3 separate regions of the Homo sapiens genome follow, and regions 1 and 2 are each linked to region 3. The links are contacts of gene promoters, found by promoter capture Hi-C in blood cells and fetal thymus (Javierre and others, 2016). All regions are on one chromosome and are shown on one strand. The core of a region is centred on a gene start or on the middle of the fragment in contact, and the rest is flanking DNA. Distances in the headings are between cores, read along the strand shown. Region 1 overlaps PSMC2 (proteasome 26S subunit, ATPase 2). Region 2 overlaps DNAJC2 (DnaJ heat shock protein family (Hsp40) member C2). Region 3 holds the start of PMPCB (peptidase, mitochondrial processing subunit beta).

Region 1 (3,373 bases), core at 385-2,884, 61 kb after region 3:
TTTGTTTTTATTTTTAGTTCCTAAAAGCTAAAGATTATTTTTATTTCCCATCTACTCACCCTCCCTACTTCACAATTTCCATCTTTTCTCACTTTTATTTATTCACTCACTTTTTAGTTTTATCATGGTTTTTGAAGGGTTAAATAGTTCAGGCTGGGCACGGCAGCTCACGCCTGTAATCCCAGCACTTTGGGAGGCCCAGGCAGGCAGATGACTTGAGGTCAGGAGTTCAAGACCAGCCTGGTCAACATAGTGAAACCCCGTCTCTACTAAAAATACAAAAATTAACTGGGTGTGGTGGCGGGCGCTTGTAATCCCAGCTACTGGAGAGGCTGAGGCAGGAGAATCGCTTGAACCTGGGAGGCAGAGGTTGCAGTAAGCTGAGATTGTGCCACTGCACTTCAGCCTGGGGTGACAGAGTGATACTCTGTCTCAAAAAAAAAAAAAAAAGAAAAGAGTTAAACAGTTAAATAATAACAACTGTATTTCCCAATTTCTCTTCCCTAATGACACTCATTTTCACCTTTTTTAGCTGATTATTTTGGTTTTCGTCTTCATGGTTCTAATGGATATTGCTATATCTTGTGTATTATAGATTCCTACTTCTTGATTTTTTAGTTTTAGGTATTATCTTTTGGCTTTCCATCATGGAAGATGAGGATTTTGTTTTGTTTCCTCTGCCTTCACCTTGAAGGCACACCTTTCCTATCCCCTCATCCTTCCTATGTAATTCTGTTATAATTTTGGTTAGATCAGTATTCAGTGTTTATATGATTATGGCTATGTAAACACTATTCACAAAGAGCCAAGTGGTAAGCTGTGATTGCTTTTCCTTTCTTGTACCACTTCTTTTAGTGGTGGTTGTTATAACGTCTTGTTTTTTCATTTGCCTGGTTTTCTGTGCATATATTATGAACTCAACCTCCCACTTTCTCTTGATTGTCTAAACTGCTCTTCAGATGCATTAGATCTGTTCGTTTTCTCTCAGTTATACCTTAGTTGCATCTGGTGTTCTCTCGGTTTCATTTTCCTTAAGTTTTTCCCAGCACCTTCTGACCTGCTTTGGTTTGGACCAGTTGTCCTTTATGCCTGTTTAATGACAATTGTTGTCTGACTTCTCTACCCTGGAGATTGCCCTTTACCTCTCTCCTGTTGCTTGGTCTAATACATCCTCTGGTAGCTTCTTGGAAAAGGGTCAGTTGGGAGGTAATATTTTGAGACTGCATATGTCTGAAAGTGTCTTAGCTGAGTATACAGTTCTTTTCCCTTCAAAATTTTGAAGGCGTCGTTCTGTTGTCCTTTGCCTCCCAGTGTTACTCTGAAGCCATTCTGATCCTCAGTCCTGTATATGTGGCCTAATTTTTCTCTGAAAATTGTAGAGTCTTCTCTTGTTCTATTTTGAAATTTCATGGTGATGTGCCTTGGTGTTGGTCTGTTTTCATCCATTGTCCTGGGCTCTCTTGTCCTTTAGTAAGGCAAATCTTCTTGAAACTATTTGTTAATTTCTTTCCTTCCGTTTTCTTGGACCCTTATTCCTGAATTCTCTTATTTGGATATGGGGCCTCCAGGATTGCTCCTCTAATTTGCTAATCTTTCCTTCCTGTTTTTCTTCTTTTTGCCTTTTTACTTTACTTTCTATGAGCTTTTCTTTATCTTTGAATTTTTCTGTTGATGTTTTTTTCCTCCCATTTTTCTTCTCGTAGGTTTTTAATTTCTCAGGTAAAAAAACTCAGGTTTTTTATTTCAAGGCTCTTATCTTTATTCTTTCATTTTTGTGTGTGTGTTGAATGTTCTGCTCTTATATCATGGTTGTAATATGTTCTTATCTCTCTATGGTAAATTAAAAAATCTAGGTACATTTTTCTAGGCCGTATGAGGGGAATTTTCTTTTTTCTGTAAAGCAGTTAGAGGGAAACTTTTCATATAGATTTTTCATAACAGACAGACTAGCTAAAGAGCCCTATACCCCTACAAGATCCCAGGCCTTAAAGAAAGCAAAGATTATTTTGAAAAAGTTTCCATTGATTTTAGTCTCATACTCTTTGCTTAAAACTCTTGATAAAATTTGTGTATGTGTAATTTTTAGCTTGTGAATTTTTTTTTTTTTTTGAGACAAGGTCTCACTTTGTTACCAAGGCTGGAGTGCAGTAACATGATCTCAGCTCGCTGCAGCCTCTGCTTCCTGGGCTCCCACCTCAGCCTCCCAAGTGGCTGGGACCACAGGTGCATACCACCCCATGTCTGGCTTTTTTTTTTTTTTTTTTTTTTTTTTTTTTTTAATTTTTAGTAGAGACAGGGTCTTGCCATGTTGCCTGGGCTGCTCTTGAACTCCTAGGCTCAAGCCATCTGCCCACCTTGGCCTCCCAAAGTTCTGGGATTACAGGTGTGAGCCACCGTGCCCAGCCAGCTTATGAATTTTTTTAATAACAATCTTACTGATATAAAATTCAGATATCATGAGGTTCACTCTTTTAAAGTATACAATTTAGTGATTTTTAGAATATCTAGAAAATTGTGCATTGATCATCACTATCTAATTCCAGAATAGAATATTTTTGTCACCCCAAAAACAAACCCAATACCCATTAGCAGTCTTCATTCCCGTCTCTTTCCAGCCCCTGGCAACCATTTATCTACTTTCTGTTTCTATGAATTTGTCTATCCTGGACATATCATCTAAATGGAATCATATAGTACATGGCTTCCTTCACTTAGCATATTTCAAGGTTCATCCGTATTCTAAAATAGATGGAACTTTTTATGGCCAAATAATATTCCAGTCTAATTTCTCTATCTGTATTCACTATTGGTGAGACATTCTTCTCATCATTCCTATAAACTCTTTAGATATGGTTTCCTTTAGCTTTTTGAAAATATTTCTTGTACTGATTTAAGGTTTTTGTTTGACTGGGCGCAGTGGCTCATGCCTGTAATCCCAGCACTTTGGGAGGCTGAGGCAGGTGGATCACTTGAGGTTGGGAGTTTGAGATCAGCCTGGCCAACATGGTGAAACCTGTCTCTACTAAAAATATAAAAATATTAGCTGGGCGTGGTGGCAGGCGCCTGTAATCCCAGACACTTAGGAGGCTGACGCAGGAGAATTGCTCGAACGTGGGAGGCGGAAGTTGCAGTGAGTCAAGATCGCGCCACTGCACTCCAGCCTGGGCAGCAGTGAGATTCCGTCTCAAAAAAAAAAAAAAAGTTTTGTTTAATAACACCAACATCTAGGCTTCTTAAGGGACAATTTCTATTGACTGATTTTTTTCCCCTTATGTATGAGCCATAATGTCATACATAAGGGAAAATGCATTTCATAATGTTTTGCATCTCATAACTTTTTGGTGATAACTAGACATTTAAAATAATGTAATGT
Region 2 (3,685 bases), core at 281-2,780, 42 kb after region 3:
GCTACTCAGGAGGCAGAAGTAGCAGGATTACTTGAGTCTAGTAAGTAGAGGCTGCAGTGAGCTGTGATCATGCCACTGCACTCCAGGATAGGCGACAGAGCAAGACCCTGTCTTTTTTTTTTTTTTTTTAATGATTTTAAGATTTTATTTTATTTTTTTGAGACGGAGTCTTGCTCTGTTGCCCAGGCTGGAGTGCAGTGGTGCCATCTTGGCTCACTGCAACCTCCGCCTCCCGGGTTCAAGCAATTCTCCTGCCTCAGCCTTCCAAGTTGCTGGGATTACAGGTGCACACCACCACGCCTGGCTAATTTGTGTATTTTTAGTAGAGACAGGGTTTCACCTTGTTGGTCAGGCTGGTCTCGAACTCCTGACCTCAGGTGATATACCTGCCTTGGCCTCCCAAAGGGCCAAGGGATTACAGGTGTGAGCCACTGCACCCGGCCAAGACCCTGTCTTTAAAAAAAAGAAGAGACAGGCTGGGCATGCCAGCTTACGCCTGTAATCCCAGTGCTTTGGGAGGCTGAGGTGGGTGGATCATGAGGTCAGGAGTTTGAGACCAGCCTGGCTAACATGGTGAAACCCTGTCTCTACTAAAAATACAAAAATTAGCCGGGCGTGGTGGCGCCCACCTGTAATCCCAGCTACTCGGGAGGCTGAGGCAAGATAATTGCTTGAACCTGGGAGGCGGAGGTTGCAGTGGGCCAAGACTGCGCCACTGCACTCCAGCCTGGGCAACAGAGTGAGACTCCGTCTCAAAATAAAATAAAATAAAAAATAAATTTAAAAAAGAGGTAAATGTGGACTATTATACAGCCTCCTTGATGATTTGTATGCACAAAGGCCTAAGAAAGGCTCTGAGAAGTCCTGTAATTAGATTTAAAAAATAAACAAACAGAAACCTGTAAAACCTAGCATTTTCCAAACTTACTTGACCAAAGACCCCTTTTTTCTCTTAGCACCTGTTGATAGCTTATGGCCATCCTATGGAACTTATGGCTACATGTTCTTGTTTACTTATTATGTCACTGGAATATAAGCTGTGTGTAAGCAGTAATACTGTCTTGTTCAGTACAGTATCCTTGACACCTAGAACAGTATCTGACATGGTGTTTGATCCATATTTGATGAATGAAAATAAACTGAACAAGTGAATGAACTCTGCTACCTTACTCTGATACAATCTACTTCTTTCTATACCAAAGACCTTCTCCCTCTTATAGATCTCAACACTCCCCAGTTCTGTCTTTTCCCGACTCTGCCTTCTCCTGAAGTTACTATCTTCTCTCATTTTCTTTACTACCCAGCTTTGAAAGAGTACTTTACACTTTGATCCTACTTCATCACTTCCTAATCACTCTTCATTCACTGTAATCTCTTGCCTTCCCGATCATTTTACTCAAACTGCTTTCAATGAGGACACCGAAACTTTTAGTTTGCCAAATCCAATGGTTTTTTTTTTTTTTGAGATGGAGTTTCACTCTTGTTGCCCAGGCTGGAGTGCAGTGGCACGATCTCAGCTTACCGCAATCTCCACCTCCCAGGTTCAAGCGATTCTCCTGTTTCAGCCTCCTGAGTAGCTGGGATTATAAGCATGTGCCACCATGCCCGGTCCAGTGTTTTTTAAAATAATTTTTCATGTTATGTGATTGACCTCTTTCTGAAGCAGTGACACAGGTGACTCTTCCCACGCCCCTTTTTTTGAGATAGAGTTTTGCTCTTGTTGCCCAGGCTGGAGTGCAATTGTATGATCTCGGCTCACAGCAACCTCCACCTCCTGAGTTGAAGTGATTCTCCTGCCTCAGCCTCCCAAGTAGCTGCGATTACAGGCATGTGCCACCACGCCTGGCTAATTTTGTATTTTTAGTAGAGATGGGGTTTCACCATGTTGGTCAGGCTGGTCTCGAACTCCTGACCTCGGGTGATCTGCCCGCCTCAGCCTCCCAAAGTGCTGGGATTACAGGCATGAGCCACTGCACCCTGCCTCTTTTTCCCTCTTGCTCCTCCCTTAGTTTCTGGAAGAATACGCTGCCTGATGTTTAGGAAGTATTTCTTCAAATAACAAAGTGTCTTTTTCTTTGTTTTCTTTCTACTTCTGTCACCCTTCTTAGTATCTTCTGCTGTTTTTCCTCCTCTTCCTACCCCTTAAATATCCATGCTCCCCAATGTTGTCTTTTTCTTTTAAAATGGATGAGGTGGTGGGAGAATCAGCTAACACTTTCTGAGTGCTTACTTTTCTAAATGTTTTATACATATGCTTTAGCTTATTTAGTCCTCTAAACAACCAATGACATAGGAACTCTTATTATCCATTATTTGTTTGGCATTTATCATGCAGCAAGTACTAACTTAAGTGCTTTATAAGCATCCTTTTATTAATCCTCAAGGTAAACCTTTGAGCTGTTAACAATCTCACTGTAGCAACAAGGGAAATGAGGTACACACATATCTGGGAACTTTCCCAAGGTCGAAGTGCACCAAATGGCAGAACCAGATTTGAATTCAGGCACTCCAATTCCACAGCATACGCATTTAACTATTATACAAGTACCTACTAAAGCATTATCTATTTGTTTATACTTTTGTCCCTTGCTGTTGTCATTCAATTCCTCACAGCAACCACCACTATGTGCCAATGACTTCAAAAAGTCTTTGGCTGTAACCTCTTTTTGGAGTCATAGACCAATTTCTAACCATCTACTAGACAGCTTCACCACTATGGTACCAAAACCTCAGTCTTCACATAGTCAAACTTGGACACAAACAGCACCTCCCACAAACATTCTTATCCTCATCCCAGCATTGGTTACTGACCACACACTCTAGCAGGTCACTCAAGCGCTAATGCTGGGAAGGACCTCTGAATACTTCTCTTTGTCTTGTGCCACACAGCCAGGGTCACCAAAGCCTGTTAATGCTACCTCCAAAAAAGGCAAATCTGACCCCTCTTCCTCAAAACCCAGCCACATAGTAAGTTCAAGGATTCAGTCACAGGTCTGCCTTAGTGCACTAGCCCTATAACAGTAAACTATTCACTTCCCCTCCAGTCCCTTGCCCCCTTTCAAGCAATTTCCTGTACTGCCAAGGGAATTACTTTTCTAAAATTAGCTAAGAAACTTTTGATGGTATCTTACTGTCCCAAAAATAAATTTTAATTCCTTCTTTAGCATGGTATAAAAAGGACACAACAGAGTTTGGTCTAGTGTCCTTTTAAAGACACTAGATTTCTCATCACCATACCGCATGTACCCTATACGACTTATCAATTCCTCAAGAGGCACTACATATTCTTTTACTCCTTTGTGTCTTTGTATATCTTACTCCTTCTGCCCAGAATACTTTTCTCACTTCTCTGCTTCACTAATTGCTGCCTGTCCTTTTAAGACCGGTGCAAACATTATCTTTTCTGTGAACTCTTCCTGGATTTCTCCAGCAGAGACAGTATCTCATGGCTAGTGCTAATGCTCTCAAGACTTAGTAATAAACAGATGCTAAATCATAGTTATCTTGCTGAATCATCTTAAAACATGTTTATTAATGGAAAACTCATAAGAAAATTGTCTATGTCTAACAAAGCATCTGACTGAACAAAATATTCAGATATTAAATACCTTCCAGTCTTTGGGATCAAGTGTTTTCAGCATGGGAAACTCTTCCAACTGCAATTCTTCATCTTCTGATTCCTCGG
Region 3 (3,818 bases), core at 504-3,003:
TTTGTATTTATTTTTGGTTAACACACATTTGTTTTAGAAACATGAGAGAATAACCTTGGTCGTCCTTTATTACATTACATCATGAGTCTTGTGGACTGAACCTGCGAAGCATAGCAGCCGGGTAGGTGGAGGGAGATGAGTCTGGAAAGATAAATGGGAGTCAGATCATGAAGGGCCCCACCTGCCATGCTAAGGACCCTTTACTTTATTGTGACCAAGGGCTCCCTGATGGATTCTTCATAATGGGACTGCCGTAACAGTTTCATTTGTAAAAGATCCTATAGGTAGTAATGTGAAAAAACTGACAATGGGCCTGGAGTAGATTGAAGAGGCAGGAAAGGGGTGTATCAATTGAATGTGGAAGATGGAAAAAGAGAGGAGCTTCTGGGTGGTTTGGAGTTTTGGGCAAATGTAGGTATGATTGGCTGTTTGGCATTGCAAATATGGGAAGAGATTCAGGGGACACAGTGAATTCCCTTTTGGACAAGTTGATATTGAGTTTCCAATGGGGTATTCAAGTGTAGTTTCCTAGTAGTTGATGGTTAAGTGGGCTGGAGCTCAAGAGAAAGGCCTGGGTTGGGCAGACAGGTCTTGAAGTGGAGGGAAAAACCCAGAGGGAGAATGTTCAGTAGAAGAGGCTTAGAGTCCTGGCAAACACCAACTTTTAGGGCAAAATGTAGTGTTTCACAGCACAGTCTTTGGCGTTAACCTATTACTAGCAGGGTAACCTGGGGCAAGTTATTTGACTTCAGTGTCTTAATTGCAAAATAAGCACTATACCATCTACCTGAGTTAGAAAAGCATTTGCAATTTTTAGTTCCTTGAGAGATCTGTGGGCTGGGCGCAGTGGCTCACGCCTGTAATCCTAGCACTTTGGGAGGTGGAGGTGGGTGGATTACCTGAGGTTAGGAGTTCAAAACCAGCCTGACCAATATGGTGAAACCCCATCTCTACTAAAAATACAAAGTAGCCAGGCGTGGTGGCACATGCCTGTAATCCCAGCTACCTGGGAGGCTGAGGCAGGAGAATTGCTTGAACCCAGGAGGCAGAGGTTGCAGTGAGCTGAGATTGCACCACTGCACTCCAGCCTGGGCAACAAGAGTGAAACTCCATCTCAAAAACAAAAACAAAAACAAAAAACAGATCTGTGAATAAAGAGGAGTCCAAGAAGGTGCAGAGGGAACTATGAGGAGGTGGAGCTCTAGAATATATTGAGAAAAGAGAATTTCAAAGAAGCCAACAATGTCAAATCCTCCAACAGGACTGTAACATAAGTCTGTAAAGTGTCCAACTTTTAGCAATTAGTGACCTTACCAAGGGCAATTTCTATGGAATGAGATGAGCCATATTGTAGAGGTTCGAAGAGTGGATAGTGGTCAACACGGATACATCGTTTCCTCCCCTCACGGCATCTGTCTCTCCCACTAGACTTTTCCTTTAAAGGCAGTGACTTATGAATATTATTCCACTGTTTTCAATCAATTCCATCCACCAGTGAGATATATTGCATCAGGTTACCTTTCATTCCACCGCATTTGTGCCTTGCACTTAGTAGGCGATCGATAAAATAACTGATGATAAAGGGGCTTCTGCAGACTCCCCAATTCATTTGGTAAAGACCGCTCAGCATCATGGTCGGGCCCTGATTGCTTTCACAACCGCTTCGAGGAGTGTCATTCCCATCACGGCCACAAGGTGGAGCCCACCTCCCTGCTCTGGGACCTCAGGTCGCGACCCCGGAAGCACATCCTTCATCCTCTACCTTCCTTCTAGCAGAAATGGCGGCTGCGGCGGCTCGAGTGGTGTTGTCATCCGCGGCGCGGCGGCGGCTCTGGGGTTTCAGCGAGAGTCTTCTAATCCGAGGCGCTGCGGGACGGGTGAGCTTCCCTCCAGGCCGGTCCTGTCCTCGAGATCTCGCCAGACCCGGCGCAGCGCACCTGAGAGTCGGCGCCACAGATCCGAACAGTGGGTCGGGCAGGGCCTCCTCGACCCGGACCCGCCGGGCGCCAGGCGGCCTGGGGCTGCTGAACTGGCCGGGGGTGACTGGCTTGTGGCCACCCGCCAGGAGACCTGCTAGTGACGTGTGGGATGACCCTGGTTTTCGGCTCCTCCCGCCAGCTACTGAGGAGTGCATGTTTGACCACTAAAAACGTAGTGCTTGCAAATTGGGGAAAACTAAAAAGTGAAATGGGTACCGCTCCAGAGTTCTATTTTTGCCTAAGACTGAACTTCGTCCTCAGCTGGGCTTCCCGCGAACCTGGACATCAATGAAGTAAAATTTTTTATGTATTTGCATTTTTCTCATGAGAGAGCCTCTGACTTTAAGCAAAGGGATGTGAGACTTTTGTATAAGGGCAAAGAAAAACTGCTGAAAGGCGAATAGTTTCTGGCCGAAAAGCCAGTCATTTGCATTTTGAACATCGACCCATCTTCCTATCCTCTCTCTCTTTTTTTTTTTAACCATTTCCAAACCCTGTTGCTTTTCTTGAACAATGAAAACCCGAGTGTCAGTTTTGTCTTGTGTGTAGGTAGTTTTACATAGTTTCCCTCTCTTTTTTTTTTTCCTGCTTGTTTTCTCCATAATGAATATAAAACATTTCTAGGAGAGGTAGTGAAATAAAGTCAATTTCTCTCTGGGTAATGATAATAATTGCTCATCTTCCCTGAGGGAAGGGCATGTTTATAAACACGTTGCTGGCTTTAGGACAGTGGCTGGTGACAGATGTTTCTAGGCCAGGCAGAGATCTCAGTGGAACCAAAATTCAAGAAGAAAGATTCTTTTATAGAGACAGCCTATTTAAAATAGATTTGGTTTTAAAAGCAACATTTAATATCAGATTAGTAATGTGTTTTGCTTTGTCTCTTCCACTTCCTACCCCCAACCAGTCATTATATTTTGGAGAGAACAGATTAAGAAGTACACAGGCTGCTACCCAAGTTGTTCTGAATGTTCCTGAAACAAGAGTAACATGTTTAGAAAGTGGACTCAGAGTAGCTTCGGAAGACTCTGGGCTCTCAACATGCACAGTAAGTGACTCAGGCAACCTTCTCTAAGTGACCCTTCATTTAGCGTAGCAAATTGTTGATTTTAATCTTTAGCTTTTTCGTTGGCTGGTGGTTCAAAAAGGGTGACAGTTATTTTGCCTTGACAGATTTCCATGAGTTGTGAACCTTTTCTTCCAGTGGTACTTAGTTACAGGGTGCATATGTATCCTGTTGCATTGTCTGCATCTTGTTCTTGTAGCTTATTATTGATTATTTATTTTCAGTAGTATTGATAATAATGAAAGAAATATGTTTGCAGGGCTACTCTGCCAAGTGTTTTTACTGATGTCTTATTTGATAAAAAGCAATTGTTTGTAGTGGGCATCCTCACACCTGTTTTATAGTTAAGGAAGTGAGAGAAGTTAAATGGTTTTGTTCAGGTAACTCAGCTAATACATGACAGAGCCAGGATTTCAACCGAAGTTTTCTGACAGTCTCTGATGTTCTTGATACTACAGTTATTAATTGGCTGGATTAATGAGTTGGGCAAAGAATCCTCATTGAAGGTGGCAGGTAGATACTTGTAGCACCCAGCAGTATCCTGATCGAAATTTTTAAATCTCATAGTTCACAGGAATGAACTATCAATTCACTCAGGTCAAGAAAATCTTAGTGTTAAGACCAGAAAGCATTTGTCAGAAAAAGGAAGGAGACTGTTCCCCCCAACCTCAAATAAATAAAATGAATTTATTTAATTGTTCTTTGATTGCATTAAGGTTGGACTCTGGATTGATGCTGGAAGTAGATACGAAAATGAGAAGAACAATGGAACA

The links. The method cuts DNA at HindIII sites, captures the fragments that hold promoters and counts their contacts. A CHiCAGO score of 5 or more calls a contact.
Region 1: a fragment that was not itself captured here is called in contact with the fragment with the promoter of PMPCB in region 3 in 13 of 17 cell types (activated CD4 T cells, total CD8 T cells, M2 macrophages and 10 more); the score reaches 9.2 in activated CD4 T cells.
Region 2: a fragment that was not itself captured here is called in contact with the fragment with the promoter of PMPCB in region 3 in 15 of 17 cell types (total CD8 T cells, naive CD8 T cells, activated CD4 T cells and 12 more); the score reaches 13.8 in total CD8 T cells.

What each region holds. Positions count from the first base shown.
Region 1 is chr7:103,356,893-103,360,265 of GRCh38, forward strand. The region is part of intron 4 of PSMC2 (proteasome 26S subunit, ATPase 2); the gene reads left to right. It also overlaps a transcript of SLC26A5 not described here. Among named protein-coding and RNA genes, the nearest start is that of PSMC2, 11 kb to the left of the region's middle. The HindIII fragment of the contact is 5,225 bases long and covers 1-3,373 here.
Region 2 is chr7:103,338,156-103,341,840 of GRCh38, forward strand. It overlaps DNAJC2 (DnaJ heat shock protein family (Hsp40) member C2), which reads right to left. Exons shown (of 17, transcript NM_014377.3): 2 at 3,609-3,685. It also overlaps a transcript of PMPCB not described here. Among named protein-coding and RNA genes, the nearest start is that of DNAJC2, 4.8 kb to the right of the region's middle. The HindIII fragment of the contact is 4,443 bases long and covers 1-3,685 here.
Region 3 is chr7:103,295,682-103,299,499 of GRCh38, forward strand. It overlaps PMPCB (peptidase, mitochondrial processing subunit beta), which reads left to right and starts at 1,754. Exons shown (of 13, transcript NM_004279.3): 1 at 1,754-1,877; 2 at 2,887-3,027; 3 at 3,762-3,818. The coding sequence starts at 1,779. RefSeq lists enhancers at 1,549-1,608, 1,709-2,008. The HindIII fragment of the contact is 11,349 bases long and covers 1-3,818 here.